Linked DNA regions of Homo sapiens: region 1 is linked to region 2. Evidence: promoter capture Hi-C in 16 types of primary human blood cells and fetal thymus (Javierre and others, 2016). All regions are on one chromosome and are shown on one strand. Each heading gives the region's core, a stretch centred on a gene start or on the middle of the fragment in contact. The rest is flanking DNA. Distances are from core to core; before and after follow the strand shown.

Region 1 (4,334 bases), core at 1,242-3,741, 390 kb after region 2:
CCTCCTGAGAAGCTGAGATTACAGGTAGGTGCCACCACACCCAGCTAATTTTTAGTAGTGATGGGGTTTCACCATGTTGGCCAGGCTGGTCTCGATCTCCTGACCTTGTGATCTGCCGCTTCAGCCTCCCAAAGTGCTGGGATTACGGGTGTGAGCCACTGTGCCCTGCCAAAGTGGTACATAAAAACTTTCACTCCGCCACCAGGAAGACAATTTGCCCAACCTGTTCAATACAGTTCCCGCTCAACAAACCCCAATTTAGCATCTTCTATGTGTCAGGCAGTATGCTGAGCATTGGGACCTCAAGGATGAGGAAGATGCAGTCTCTGCCCTAGAGGAGCTTACAGCAGCAGGAAGTTTCTGTCATAGGACAGACCCAGGGCTCACCAAGACTCAAGCAGATGATGAAGCCTGGGGCTCACTGGCCCAATCAGCGTATTCAGACTGGCTGGCTGCTTATGAGGCTCTTGGGCCAGGGCTGCCTGCTCAGTGGGCAGCTGACTCTAGCTGCTGCAAAATGCCTTTCACTCAAAGGTGCTATCTACCAGTGATTATATGGCATTCCAATTTTACCTGGAAGGGAGATGCAGCTACCAGCTGTTTCTTCCCTCTCCCAACCACAAAGTAACACATTTTTCATTTGTCTATCTGTTGTTTCCAGGTTTTTGCTTTTGCCAATCCCCTCCCTCACATGCCTTGAAACAAGCACTTTCAAAGACAAAGACATAAACAACAAAAGGGTGCAGGCTGAGGTGGGTCATCTTCTCTGCCTGCGTCTCCAACTCTGGATCCTGCAGTTACTGGACTCAGGCCATGGCTGACTCCTTCATCACAGCTAAGATGCTGCTGGGTTTAAGGCACTGTGACTTTCTGTGCCACTAAGACCGACAAAAAGCTGCCAAGTGAACGATGACACAAAGAAAGACACAAACTGTGGGACCCAGCCCAACTTCAGAGCTGCTAAAATGTGAACAAAAATGCATCCCGGAATGGATGGAAACCGATCATTCTAGTTGGTGTGACCTGCTCCAGTGCCTACAGTACGTGTCCTGACAGCGTGGGAGGGGATATGAAGGCCCCCCAGTCAAACAGGAGACAGCGTTAGTCTCCAAACTTAACTTTGTTATCTCTTTCCCTCCTGGGGCCCAATACCCGCCAGCCAGGACCTGTTTCTCCTCCATCTCACATTCTTTCCAGGTTCAGGACTGAAGTCGTCTTGTTCAGCTCCTTGACTTGGCCATGCTCACTCTACAATGCAGCCCATGGATGGCGCCCCCTCTGCCCAGCACATCCCTCTGCCTGGGCTCTTGTCTCCCCGAATCCTGCAAACCCCAGCCCCAGCCTTTAGCGTTCAGCCGCCCTCCCCGCTTCCCTCATCCTCCCTCGCGTCCTCGCAGTGAGATTTCAACATGTCATCTCAGTTTTTTTGTTCTTTTACTTTCCTGACTACAAGAAAAATAAAATAATCTGTCTTAAAGTGTAGCATGAGGCCAAATAATTACGGAATCCCAAGTGCTTTGGGCCCTGATGTCAAAAGAGCCAAGATGAATTCAGAATATTACAATGGTGCTGTTTCTGCGAATACTGCTTTTTCAAGACGCCTTATTCCTAACATCATGTTTTATATCCATCCTTTTAAACAAATATTTAATAGCTTGGGAATGCTGGCGAGAGCAGCGGCTCCTGTCAGCAAGGACTGAGCTCACAATTTGAAAGATGAAAGGAGATGCGTTCTACCCACAAAGAAAACGGTCTCCAGCATCATAAACTCCACATCCATCAAACCGGGCAGGGGCTGGGAATAGAAAGCCTTTCTGGAAAGAAAACACCAGCTACCCTTTGCACCCTGGGGAACATTAAAAATCAAAACAAAACATGCCACATCAACCAAAACATAAACCAGTTCTCAAACCAATCTAAGGTTCCACCCCACCAAGGCCGGCCGCGCAGTGGCCTGTGGAGAGGAGGGCCCGGCTCACGTCGGAACCCGAACCACGCGGGGTCGCAGGAACCTGAAAAGCGCCAGAGTAGCCCGGCGGCCGCACCGGGGCTGACCTGCAAGGCCTGGACCAGCCAGGAGTCCCAGGGAAGTCGAGTGCTCTCTGAGCGCTAACCACGCGCCCCTGCGGTTCCTCGGCCTCAGTTTCCTTACCTGTAAAATGGAGCCGCTGATCCTGCCTCCTGAGTTGTGGAGCGAGGCCCGCACCTGGAAGCCTTGGCCACATAGGGCGGGAAGGGCAGGGCTCCGGGGTGAGGGAGGGTGGCGGGAATTCGCACGGCCTCAGAGGACGGGGCCAGCTAGCCGGGAAAGGAAGCAGGAGCAGGCTCCCCAGGCGGCGCAGTGGGAGGACCCCAAGAGTTGCGTCCCTAGATCCAGGGCCGCCAACGTGGAACCTAAAGATCCAGTTCTGGGGATTGAGTTCCGACTCCAAACCAAGCGGCCAGCTCACAGCCGCCGCCGCCGCCAGCTGGGGAGCTCGCCGGCCAAGTGCGCACCCTCTTCCTGTTAGCCCTCCACGTGCGCGCCCTCTTCCTGCTCGCCCTCCACGTGCGCATCCACGTGCGCGGGAATTGGCTGGCGGAAGCTCCTGCCCCCAGGCAGTCCTGGGTCACGCGCACTTGTAGTAGCTTGCATTTACCAAGACAGTGAGACAGTGGCCTGGCGCGGTGTCTCATGCCTATAATCCCAGCACTTTGGGAGGCTGAGACGGGACGATTGCTTGAGCCCAGGAGTGAGAGACCTGCCTGGGCGACATGGCGAAACCCCGTCTCTACTAAAAATACAAAAATTAGCCTGGCGTGGGCAGGGCGCGGTGGCTCACGCCTGTAATCCCAGCACTTTGGGAGGCCGAGGCGGGCGAATTGCCTGAGGTCAGGAGTTCCAGACCAGTCTGGCCAACATGGTGAAGCCCTGTCTCTACTAAAAATTAAAAAACATTAACCGGGCTTGGTGGCTGGCGTGCGCCTGTAATCCCAGTTGCGCGGGAGGCTGAGGCAGGGGAATTGCTTGAACCAGGGAGGTGGAGGTTGCAATGAGCCGAGATCGCGCCACCGCACTCCAGCCTGGGCAGCAGAGCAAGACGCCGTCTCAAAAAAAAAAAAAAAAAAAAAAAAAAAAAAAAAAAAAAAAAAAAAAAAAAGCCGGGCATAGTGGTGCAGTGCCTGTAGCCCCAACTACTTCAGAGGCTGAGGTGAGAGGATCACTTGAGCCTGGGAGGCGTAGGCAGAGGTTGCAGTGAGCCGAGATCGTGGCACTGTACTCCAGCCTGGCGAAAGAGCAAGCCCCCATCTCTAACACACACACACACACACACACACGTGTGAGATAGCTGTGTCTGTTTGGCAGTGATGAGCTTCCCTTTATGGGAGATTTACATAATTATTCATAAAGGAGCGGGAATGGGCATTACTGTTAAGCATGTTACGGGGTCTCCCAGATGTGCATGTGCGTGCTAGTACACCACATCACATGTCTCATTAGCATTTTAATTCCTCACCCAGGGGTGTGTTTTTTAGCATTAAAATGAGCATAGGTCATTCCAAGGACACTCTAATCATGGGTTTCTGCACTTGTGTGAATTTGGGGATTTTCCCTTCTGCTGTTCATCCTCTTCGCTGCAGGATGTTCTAACTAGGAGCCTGATGCAGTTTATGCACCAGTGGGCGGTTTGTTCTCTACATCAATCTGGCAAGTTCATTCCCCTTTAAAGGAGGCTATGACCACTGTATCTAACCGACCTCATTTTCCCCCTCAGAGACTTTGGGTCCATGTTCTTATGAAATGTGGAGGGCTGGGTCATTTTTTCTGGAGCTGCTTCGTGCTGAGACAGGACCAGGGCCCGAAAGTCTCTTCTTGCCTGATTTAAAGTGATAGGGGTCATATCCTCCACTGGGATAAGTTGAAATCCTTGCATAACTATCAATCTAGGAATTGTTGTAACCTAGAAGACACAGACTTTAAAGGAGCTTAAACAAGCAAGGACCAAAGGTCAGTAGTAATAAGATGGCTATTGTAGGTCCCATGAAAGGTAGCAGAATGAAGCATCACATCATTATTCAGCAAGCAGAAGAACAAAAAGAGCTCCTACAAATAGGAGACCTGAGATGGGACTACCTTATGTTAAAGTAATATTAATCTCTTTATTTGGGGTGTTGGCATCTTTTCTTGAAAATGAATGTTAGGTCTTCTATAGGCTTACAAAAGGATTTTTAATTTTTAGTTGTTGATGTAGAGTCCTGTGGAAACGTAAGGGAAACAGTTTTTATCCTAGAGAGATGCACCCAGCTGGCAATGTCCTGGATTCTCTGGACTATGGTGTGTTATGGTGGTCAGC
Region 2 (4,456 bases), core at 1,163-3,662:
TATAGATACACACTGTACTGTGGGCCAGAACCATGGACTACATTTTAAGCCATGTTGTGGGCCCTTCCTGCCTACAGAAAAGGACACTTGAGTGGAGTCACACTTGGGTTGCCTAATTTATTACCTTAACTAGAAACATTCTAAGTATGGGAGCCTGTTCTGGAGGATAGCTTCTAAACCAAATCTAAAACTATCTTTGCACACAAGTGTTGTGAAGAGGTAAGCAGGGGATCAGAGCTCCATCTTCTGTGACCACTTCTCCAGGGACTGCCACCTATAGGGCTCAGGTTGGTACCAACAGCCCTGCATAGTAGAGTCACTGTCAATCATCTTCCCACTTGTAAGCAGGAAGACAAAAAGTCTCATGAAATAGAAACGAAAACACTGAAGCATGGCCTTCATCGTCCTAATGCCACAAGTTTCCTGGGATGGCCAAGATACTACCTTAGCTTATTGTCCCTGCTTCACCTCCAGAGACTGGAGACAGAGGATTTTCCGGGGTTGGGGTTTCTTCTCTGACTTGGCAAATTCTTCTTTTTATCTCCAGCTGAACCACCAGTTCCTTGGGTAGCAGAGCAGAGACCTAAGCACAAACCACAGGGCTTACTAGCACATCCTTCAAGCCACTTCCTTTGCTGTTCTATTACTCTTCTTCAGCTTATCTGAACCTGCGGACTCTCTGGATACAGAAACTGCCCAAAGCATGGTGAAAAAGACAAAGGGCCCAGGTTTCACCTGGCAACCACTGCTCCCAACATCTAGAGTAAGTCAAAGAGGCTGAAAGATGACAGCCTAGTTCTCTTTGCCTTCATTATGATACTAACAAAAACCAGAAGTTTCCAGGAGTCAGCAAGCTACTCAGTATCTGACGTGGTTTCTAAGGTGGAGTTGCATGGGGAGCACTCTCCCGTGGCTGCTGAGTGAAGGCAACAGTGATGTCCAAAACAAGCCCGTCCGGCTCTGAACCACCAGTTGGCAGGCCAGGATGACTCCAGTCTTTAGCAAAGAGCTTTCCATTCTAACTCCCGAAATCCCAGACCAGATGGATGTCTCCTCCCAACTAGGCGCAGAGGGTAGCACAGACTTCCAAAAGGAAACACCTTCATTAAATGCAGCAGGCAGTCCTATATGCTGACCCTTGGGTCAAACCACAGCTTAAGCGGGGGAAGAAGTGGTTCTGATCCATGTACAGCCAGATCTGCTGAGGAGTCTGGGGTTCCCAGGAACCAGATTTGCAGATCCTGGACGATGGTGCTTCCCTTGCTGGCACCGTATCACCTAACCTAATGGTTTCTCTGAAGACAGTTGGCGGAGAGGCAAAAATGACTGTCTTAAACAGGTCTTCCGACACGTGGACAGCTCAGCAGGACCACACACCTGTCCAGGGCCCACCATGAGGCAGCCATCACCAACTTGGTAAGGAGGACATATCACACAGCATCTTCAGGGTGCTGGAGGCAGGCGCTGTGGCAGGAGAGGTAGTGAAGAAGGGTCAAAGCTTTGACAGGTTATCATCATATTCAGACCCTCTATCCCAATTATCCCAACTCCTGAGAATTTATTTTAAAGAATTAATTCTCAATAGGAAAGAAGTTGGATACACAAGGACACATGTTCTAGCTGCCAAGTGGTTAACAGAACATGGACTCTAGAGTGAGAGACTCAACTTTCCACTTTTTAAGGCAAGTGCCTATGTTCTCTGAGCCTCCTTTTCCTCGCCTGTAAGAGGTAGATGACAGCATCTACTTTCCAGGGTCACCGTAAGGATTAAATGAAATAATCCACATAAAGCTCCTGAGTTTAATCTGTGCTCAACAACAAAGGTCACCTCATATTATTACACATGAAGACAGAAAAGGAATGCAGAAAAAAGGAAATAGGTGAGTTTTTAAGGGCAACAGAACAGAAGGGAAGATTTCCGTGACTTCTGATTTTGAGGCCTTAGACATGTAGGTGTGGGGGGATGCCATCAATGTTGAGCCCTGCAGCTTAAGAATAAGGAAGCAAGTAGAGAGGGTGGCCTTTTTTACCAACGCTTTCCCCACTTTTCTAAATTTCCCCCTTGGGAAACTCCTAAGAGGTCTCTGAGAATGTAGTAAAGGAGGGAAGGCCAGGCGAGGTGGCTCATGCCTATAATCCCAACACTTTGGGAGGCCAGGCAGGAGGACTGCTTGAGCCCAGAAGTTTAAGACCAGCCTGGGCAACTTAGCCCATCTCTACAAAATTTTTTCAAACATTAGGTGAGCATAGTGCTGCATGCCTTATAGGCCCAGCTACTCGGGAGGCCGAGGCCACAGGATTGTTTGAGCCCAAGAGGTTGAGGCTGCAGTGAGCCATAATCACACCAATGAAGAGGAGTTTGACAATCAAACCTCATGACTTCAATCCCAGCACTTTGGGAGGCTGAGGTGGGAAGACTGCTGGAGCCCAGAGTTCCAGACCAACCTGGGCAATATAGCAAGACCCCATCTCAATCAAAAACAAAAACAAAACCTCATGGGCTTCCCTGCCCAAAGGCAGGGCTGTACACAGATGATCACTCTGTTCTGATTATGAATACACCTTAGAGTGAGCCAGCTTGCCCACAGCCTGCTACAAGGCTACAGTGAGGCCCACTGCCAGAGGCCTCCAGCTAGAGGTGCTGCTTGCCAGGCTGACAAGGTCCTGGTATGGCCAGCAGGACAGAGAGGAGAGAGAACTTATAACCACAGGCAGGGAGTCCATTTTTTGGACCCTGATGCAGGGCACAACATAGTCTCTGTCTGTCCTCTTCCTCCCTGCAGCTTCTCAGCTGTGATGAGTACACAATAGTCCATTCCCATGAAGGAAACACATAGTAAACACCAATCAGTGCCAGAAACAAAACAGATAATTAAGTGCTTATACAGATCTTAGAGAAGTCTAGTTGGTGTTCACTTTTCTTTTTAAATTCATTCCATCCAAAAATATTGCAGTATGGAACCCCAAAATAAAAAATGACTGTTTTAAAATCCTAACAATACCATTATCACACATTAAAAAGGTTAACAATTCCGTAATATCAACAACTATCCAGTCAGTGTTAAAATTTCCAATTGCCTCATAAATGTCAAAAAAATGGGTAGTTTGTTTCTAAGCATTAAAAAACGTCGGTTTCCAAAGCCTGAGGAGATTCTGATCCTGCCACCACAACAGTCACTGAATTAAGTCAACTTCCTCTCTAAACCAGGTAAGAAAACCAAAGCCCAGAAGGATAGGTGATTTGCCCAGGATCACACAGCTGGCTGAAAACAGATGACCTGACCCATAGTCCAGTGCTCTGTCTGGCAATCTGAACAGAGCTATTAGAAGCTTCTGAATCAGCAAGAAGCCTTAATCTAATAACATCCCCTTGCTTGTTGGAAAAGAATCACCACCTGACTCCTCCTAGCAATTACATATCCACTTTATTTTATTTATTTATTTTATTTTTTTGAGACAGAGTCTGGCTCTGTTGCCCAGGCTGGAGTGCAATGGTACAATCTCAGCTCACTGCAACCTCCGCCTCCCAGGTTCAAGCAATACTCCTGCCTCAGCCTCCCAAGTAGCTGGGATTACAGGTGCACGCCACCACATCCAGCTAATTTTTGTATTTTTAGTAGAGATGGGGTTTCACCATTTTGGTCAAGATGGTTTCGATCTCTTGACCTCGTGATCCACCCGCCTAGGTCTCTCAAAGTGCTGGGATTACAGGCGTGAACCACCATGCCCAGCCTACGTCCATTCTATTAAGATGAAAACTAATCTCATGTTAACATCATCAGTTAGAAGGCCAGACCTTGATCTTTATTCTGTGCTTCAACTGAGCTCCAGAAAAGGGGGATTCTCAATGACCTCTACTCTCTTCTCAATGGTAACTGGCTGGCCCAGGCCATGGCAAGCTGAGACGGATTACCTAACACAGGAGGAAGGGATCACGTGGCAGGATCTGTGTTCTAGTTGTCCATCAACATGGCATCAGCAAACGAAGACACCCTAAAAACAGGCCCAAATGGCTTTGTAGGTCACTTCTATCAACCCATCAAGGAACTATCATTTCTGTACTATAAAACTGTTTTAGAGTATGAGAGGGGAAAAGCACTTCCCATCTCATTCTACAAGGATTGAATTACCCCTTTTACATAACTAGACAAAGGAAAGCACACACACAGAAGTAGGGGGTGGAGGGGAAGAAAACTATGGGCCAAAGCCTGAGGAGATTAATATAGACGCCAAAATCCTAAGTAAAATAAAAGCAAATAGAATAGACATGCTTTTCTTTTGAAATGCTTAGCTTCTTTCTTTTTTCATTTCGTTCTTTTGATAGGGTCTTGTTGCCTTTGTATGTATAATAAAAAGAATAGGACACACTGAAAAAGCCACTGCATCTAGAATTCACACAGTTTGATATTAGGAAACCTATTAAAGTAACTCATCATTTTAACTGATTAGAAGGAAA

Evidence for each region. The method cuts DNA at HindIII sites, captures the fragments that hold promoters and counts their contacts. A CHiCAGO score of 5 or more calls a contact.
Region 1: a contact is called between the fragment with the promoter of FAM178B here and a fragment that was not itself captured in region 2, in 2 of 17 cell types (naive CD4 T cells and erythroblasts). The highest score is 6.0, in naive CD4 T cells.

The regions. Positions count from the first base shown.
Region 1 is chr2:96,984,089-96,988,422 of GRCh38, forward strand. FAM178B (family with sequence similarity 178 member B) reads right to left here and starts at 2,492. Exons shown (of 17, transcript NM_001122646.3): 1 at 2,153-2,492. The coding sequence starts at 2,225. RefSeq lists enhancers at 1,529-2,049, 2,050-2,570. The HindIII fragment of the contact is 31,542 bases long and covers 1-4,334 here.
Region 2 is chr2:96,594,168-96,598,623 of GRCh38, forward strand. KANSL3 (KAT8 regulatory NSL complex subunit 3) reads right to left here. Exons shown (of 21, transcript NM_001115016.3): 21 at 1-1,464. The coding sequence ends at 1,444. Among named protein-coding and RNA genes, the nearest start is that of KANSL3, 42 kb to the right of the region's middle. The HindIII fragment of the contact is 1,832 bases long and covers 1,497-3,328 here.